Regions from separate parts of the Homo sapiens genome. Here region 2 is linked to region 1. The links are contacts of gene promoters, found by promoter capture Hi-C in blood cells and fetal thymus (Javierre and others, 2016). All regions are on one chromosome and are shown on one strand. The core of a region is centred on a gene start or on the middle of the fragment in contact, and the rest is flanking DNA. Distances in the headings are between cores, read along the strand shown.

Region 1 (2,859 bases), core at 263-2,762:
GGTCCAAGACAAGACTGGAAGGGCACCTCGGGTTCGGGAGGAGCTGTGAGTGGCTGAGCCAGCTCCTTGAGGATGTGGCCACTTGACTTGTGGAAGGCCATCTTGATGCCAGGACACACAGGAAGCCCCTGTGTGACATCAGGAGCAGAACAGCAAGCTCTCTGTCCCTGCACCCCCACCATCTTGGGGACCTACAAGGGCCTGGACTCAGAGGACAGTGCACAGGCTAGCCTGGAGCTCACCAGGCCTGGGGAGCTGGGACGGGGCCCCGCTGCCGGACCTGCAGCCCTGGACAGATGGGGAACACTGTGCCTCCCTGAACAGAAATGGCAGGGGAGGAGGCTGATGCTTTAAATGAAGAGGATGGTGGGGTTGGGAGGTATAACCCTGCTCCTCTCTCCCAGTCTGTGCAATAAAGGTCGTGAAGATCTCTCAGCCAGGGGCCAGTCAAGTGTATCACAGATTCTGTGATGGCTGGAGGTGGGGGTGGCTCTGGCTGGCCTGGGAGGAGACAGGTGTCTTTGGGCCTCCCAGAGGCGGGGCGCCTGGAGCCTGTGATTTGTCAGGGAAATCTCAGCCACCTGCTCCCCTCATGCAAATGACCCAAGCCCCTGGCAGCTGCTCCTTAGGCCTCCAAGTGTAAGCCCTGTCTTCCCTCTCTGAGCTTTGCTGAGACTTAGGGCCGCCTGCTTTCTCTCTGACCCCTGCTTTCACAGCCTCGAGAGGGCAAGGAGGGGGCCAGACCCCAGCCTGGGAGCAGCGTGCGGGCCTTCCCTCCACTTGAAATCCGTTGCCCGCCCACAATAGGGGCAGACCTGTCCATCCTTCTCTGTGGGTCCCCTGTACCTTTCTCCCCCAACAGGATCAGACCCAGAGGCAGCTGGTTGGGGTTTGTCGAGAAGAAGGATTATCCAGATCAGTCCTTTCTAATCTCAGCTCCTGCCTGTACCCTCCCATACTCACCAAACCCTCTTCCCCACCACCCTGAGCTGAGGAGCACAGTTTGAGGTACTGACAATGGGGCCATCTATCACCCTTATATCCCACCTCCTGGCCTGGTTGCTAAGTGGCCCTGACTGCCAAGATCATCACCATGGATGGGGGCCGGGACCAGGGGGGCCACTGGAGCTGTAGTTGTCTGCTCCTTTGCACCCCTCCCAAACCCCAACCCTTAATCCTCACAGCTTTGCTCTAATCCTGTGGGGCCTGATGCTCTTATCTCTGCCTGCAGAGACTGACCAGGGAAGCACCCCTTCACCCCCTCCTCTCTCAGGGCTTGTGGTGGGGGCTGCCCCTCTCTATGGCCCCACACTCCTGCCCCCAACCCTCCTCCCGGCTGGGCCCAAGTCTCTCTGGAATCCGTACACCTCCCTCCCTCCCCCCACCCCTTCCCCCCACCCCTGCCAGCTGATTTCATTTGCCTGACGTTGTGGTTGGCTCTACCCTTCCCTGTCAGGCCCCCCCAACCCCCCGCCGGTCGGGGCCAGGCCAGGCCAGGCCAGCTCCTCTGGCAGCAGAGCCTGGGCAGGTGACGGGCGGGCGCGGGCGTCGCAGCTGAGGGAGTAAGGAGGCTCCCAGGAACCGGAGCTGGAAACCCGGCCGAGGTCCAGCCAGAGCCCAAGTAAGAGGGAGCTGGCCTGGGCTCTGCTCTCCTGGGCTGGGGCGCAGGCAGGGCTCAGGCAGGCTGGGGCTGGACGCAAAGGACCTCAAACTTGGAGGGCCTAGCTGGGGAGAGGGTGCAGCCACCCAGTCGTTTCCCTGTGTCTTGGAGTCTGGTGTGGGCACGAAGGGCAGAAGCACAGCCTGGTGGGGGGTTCCTCAACACCGACCCCATGTTCCTGGCAGGAGCCAGAGTGACCCCTCGACCTGTCAGCCATGGGGGAGATGGAGCAACTGCGTCAGGAAGCGGAGCAGCTCAAGAAGCAGATTGCAGTAACTCCAGAGCCCTACCCCTGGGGCCCCAGAAAACAGCTGGGGACATGAGGAGCGTGGCCCAGGGGGAGGGGGCTGGGTTTGCTCTTGAGTGACTAGAAGTGACCAGGGACTTTCTAAACTTGGTTCGCATATTTGAGACCCCCAAGCCCCAGAGCCCCAAGACCAACCTGCCCTGAAGGCCCATGCACCTGCCACCCCCACCTCGCCCTTGCTCCCCTGATGTCTGCTTTCCCTGCAGGATGCCAGGAAAGCCTGTGCTGACGTTACTCTGGCAGAGGTAAGACCCCCTGTCCCCCGGAAGGCAGGGCATGGGGGGAGGGGAAGGGAGCTCCCCGACCCGCAATAGCGCGTTGCTCCGAGCATTAGTACAGCACGTCCTTGGAGTGAGGAAACCCATTAATTAATTCATTCGACCAACATTTTAGCGGGACCTGCTCTGAGCCAGGCACCATATTGGATGCGAAAGATGCGGACACGGTTCCTATTCTCATCCGTAGAACAAGAGTGACCACAGCCCCCTCCCAGGGCCTTGAAGATGAAGAAGCGATAGTACTTTGTAAATTATAAAGCCCTTGTAGACTCTAGCTGCTAGTTTTCTATGCTGTATTTTGTCAATTCTAAGATGCACATTTCTTCACATTTTGACATCTCTGAAATCAAGGTGCATTCAGCAATGGATCATTGTTTCAATTAGAATTGACAGCATCTTTTCTTTCTTAGTGATGCATCTTAGATTGGATTAAATATGTTAATAGTGAACACTTTTTATGAGCCAGATACTGGGCTAAGCTGCATAAATACCTGATTTCATTGAATTTTCATGATATCTCTGTAAGGTAGGTGCTATGATAAGCCTCATTTTACACCTTGAGTAAACAGACTCAGGGAGGTGAAGCAACTTGCCCAAGATAACAAAGCAGGCCG
Region 2 (2,859 bases), core at 110-2,609, 400 kb before region 1:
GGTGGGAATTCAGGTGCCTTGCCTGATGGTGACAAAGCTGGTTTTGCATAAACAGCTCTCTGAATCACACCCAAATGTGGCTTCTGACTTGAGTGGACCCCCATGAAGAGCTGCAGAGGGGGCTGGGAAAAGACAAGAGAATGGAGAAAATGAGGAGAAAGGAAACTACAGAGTGAGATAGAGAACAGATCTGACAGGTGTGACCACAGCAGTGTGACATTTATGAACAGTGTGGAAACAACGGCAAAGCCCCTAAATTAAAAACTTCCTGGGGAAATAAGCCACTCCACATATCGGTTGCTGAGGAAAGAGTGGAGGAGGCTGTTGACCCGTGTGTGTCCCCATGACTCAAAGAGGGAAAAGTCTAGCTGTTTCCAATATCCCGAAATCAGTCTTGCTGGGAGAACTGGGAAAATAAAAAAGAGATGACCCCCGTAGGAAGCTACCTTTAATCCCAAGTGCCCAAGGCTAGGAGAGAAGATGCTCCAGGCGATCCAGGACACCAGTGACTGACACAGCCAGAGGTGGGAAAGGGGAGGATAAAGATGGCACAAAAGTGAGGAGTGAGCAAGGGTCTGAGAGGGAAGGCCATGTGGGCAGTAGGTGGCACCCACATCAGAGACTGACATGAGGATTAAAGGAGAGCATAGGTGATCGGTCAGAGTGTGACAGAAGAGAGGCAGCTCTACACCCCTTGCTTGCAATTCTGAGCATTCTGTAGCAAACTCGTTTGGCCATCAAACCAGACCTCAATTGAGACAAGGCTATTTAAGCTTCCTCCCAGTTGGTGTAAATATTCAATAGTTTTGCTGCAGAAATGTTGCGTTTGATTATGAGACTACCCCAACTCCCCAAGGGTGTTTTGTGGTGCTGGTTTCTGTATAAACCTGAAAAATTCTGAATTCCAAAACTTATCTGACCCCCAAAGTTTCAGATAAGAGCTTGTGGACCTGTGCTCAATTCTGGTTCTCCTTCCTTCTTTCAACTGTTGTCTGTGAAAGGAGGGATGCAGGTATGGGAGACAGGAGTCCTGCGAATTCGTCTGTAAACTGTGGACGGGGGGGTGGGTGGGGGGGGGTAACGTGGGCACCTTTGTGCACAAGTGCATGAATAGGAGGGGTGAGCAACTGTGTGTCCATCACCTTTTTGTCAAAGAAGCAGGAGTCAGTGGGCTACGTGCTTCATGAGCAGGAGAGGCGGAAACTAAGGAAGGCTCATGTGTTGGAGGAAGCATGTTTGAAGAGCAGCAGGTCTCACAGAGTTTGCTCTTTAATACTCTCCCCAGCACACGGAAGGGGAAGGGGGTGGAGGTTGCTGCTATGAGAGAGAAAAAAAAAACAGCCACAATAGAGATTCTGCCTTCAAAGGTTGGCTTGCCACCTGAAGCAGCCACTGCCCAGGGGGTGCAAAGAAGAGACAGCAGCGCCCAGCTTGGAGGTGCTAACTCCAGAGGCCAGCATCAGCAACTGGGCACAGAAAGGAGCCGCCTGGGCAGGGACCATGGCACGGCCACATCCCTGGTGGCTGTGCGTTCTGGGGACCCTGGTGGGGCTCTCAGCTACTCCAGCCCCCAAGAGCTGCCCAGAGAGGCACTACTGGGCTCAGGGAAAGCTGTGCTGCCAGATGTGTGAGCCAGGTAAGAGGGGGCCTTGGTAAGGGCCAGGTGAGTGGCGAAAGAGAGAGGACTGGGGTTAATACAGTAAATAGGCGCAGGGTGAGACTGAGCTCAAGCAAGGAGGGAAATCCTGCAGCTGTGGGGAGGCACCACCTTGAAGAGGGCAGAGAACCAGCCCTTCTCAGGCCTTGATCCCTTACCCTCTCCTCCCAGGAACATTCCTCGTGAAGGACTGTGACCAGCATAGAAAGGCTGCTCAGTGTGATCCTTGCATACCGGGGGTCTCCTTCTCTCCTGACCACCACACCCGGCCCCACTGTGAGAGCTGTCGGCACTGTAACTCTGGTGAGGTGGGCAAGGGTGTGTAGGTGGGGACGATGGACAAGCATCTGGGGGAGCAAGGCTGGTGACGGGTTTGGGGGTGCAAGGAGGATGACGGGGCCAAAGCTTTGGCCTTCTTCAAGGCTCACAGCAAGTGGAGCCAATGCTGGGAAATGCGGCACCCTAGGTGGGGCATGAATTAACGTGGGCAGACATCTAGTATTCCAGGAAAGGGATAAATAGAATTTGAGGGATTGGTGAGAACGGGTCTATGGATAGGATCAAGACAATAAAATGAGAGAAGTGGCTCTATGACCCCAGATTTCGGGCAAGCAACCCCCAACCAATAAACTGACTGTGTTCCCAGAGTGCACATGTGCAGGTTGGCCATTGGGAATTTGGAATACATCTTTCTAAGGAAATAACAAAGCAACCCAATAGGTAACAACCTTTTTTTGCACAAAAGCCAATTTGAGAAAATGAGTATGTATGTAGCCTGTGTTTTTATTTTATAGTTCCAAAAAAAAAGGTTTTTTTTAAACTAAGAAGTATAATATCTGCAGTTGTGCTTATGAATGCTGTTATTATTTCTCCATCTTCGCTACAATTTCAGAAACTACGGCCAGTATACACTAGAATAGCAGGCTTTAAAGTGGCCCCTTTGAACAAATGTTCTCTAGCAAGACACTTTTTAGAACCAGGTAACTGTAACTATTAAACTACCTACTTGCAAAACGTGTTTGGTGTCACTGGGTCTCTTGGTACTGGGTTTTGTTTTGTTTAGTTTAGAGACAAGGTCTAGCTCTGTCACCCAGGCTGGAGTGCAGTGGTGCAATCATAGCTCCCCACAGCCTTGAACTCCTGGGCTCAAGCAATCTTCTAGTCTCAGCCTCTGAAAGTGCCAGGATTACAGGTGTGAGCTG

What was found. The method cuts DNA at HindIII sites, captures the fragments that hold promoters and counts their contacts. A CHiCAGO score of 5 or more calls a contact.
Region 2: a contact is called between the fragment with the promoter of CD27 here and the fragment with the promoter of GNB3 in region 1, in 2 of 17 cell types (activated CD4 T cells and total CD4 T cells). The highest score is 5.2, in activated CD4 T cells.

What each region holds. Positions count from the first base shown.
Region 1 is chr12:6,839,413-6,842,271 of GRCh38, forward strand. GNB3 (G protein subunit beta 3) reads left to right here and starts at 1,513. Exons shown (of 10, transcript NM_002075.4): 1 at 1,513-1,621; 2 at 1,846-1,932; 3 at 2,174-2,212. The coding sequence starts at 1,876. It overlaps P3H3 (prolyl 3-hydroxylase 3), which reads left to right. Exons shown (of 15, transcript NM_014262.5): 15 at 1-435. The coding sequence ends at 49. The HindIII fragment of the contact is 12,557 bases long and covers 1-2,859 here.
Region 2 is chr12:6,443,596-6,446,454 of GRCh38, forward strand. It overlaps CD27 (CD27 molecule), which reads left to right and starts at 1,360. Exons shown (of 6, transcript NM_001242.5): 1 at 1,360-1,636; 2 at 1,829-1,960. The coding sequence starts at 1,501. It overlaps CD27-AS1 (CD27 antisense RNA 1), which reads right to left. Exons shown (of 6, transcript NR_015382.2): 5 at 1-122. RefSeq lists enhancers at 452-521, 542-591, 1,496-1,997, 1,542-1,601, 1,632-1,811 and 1 more. The HindIII fragment of the contact is 1,289 bases long and covers 772-2,060 here.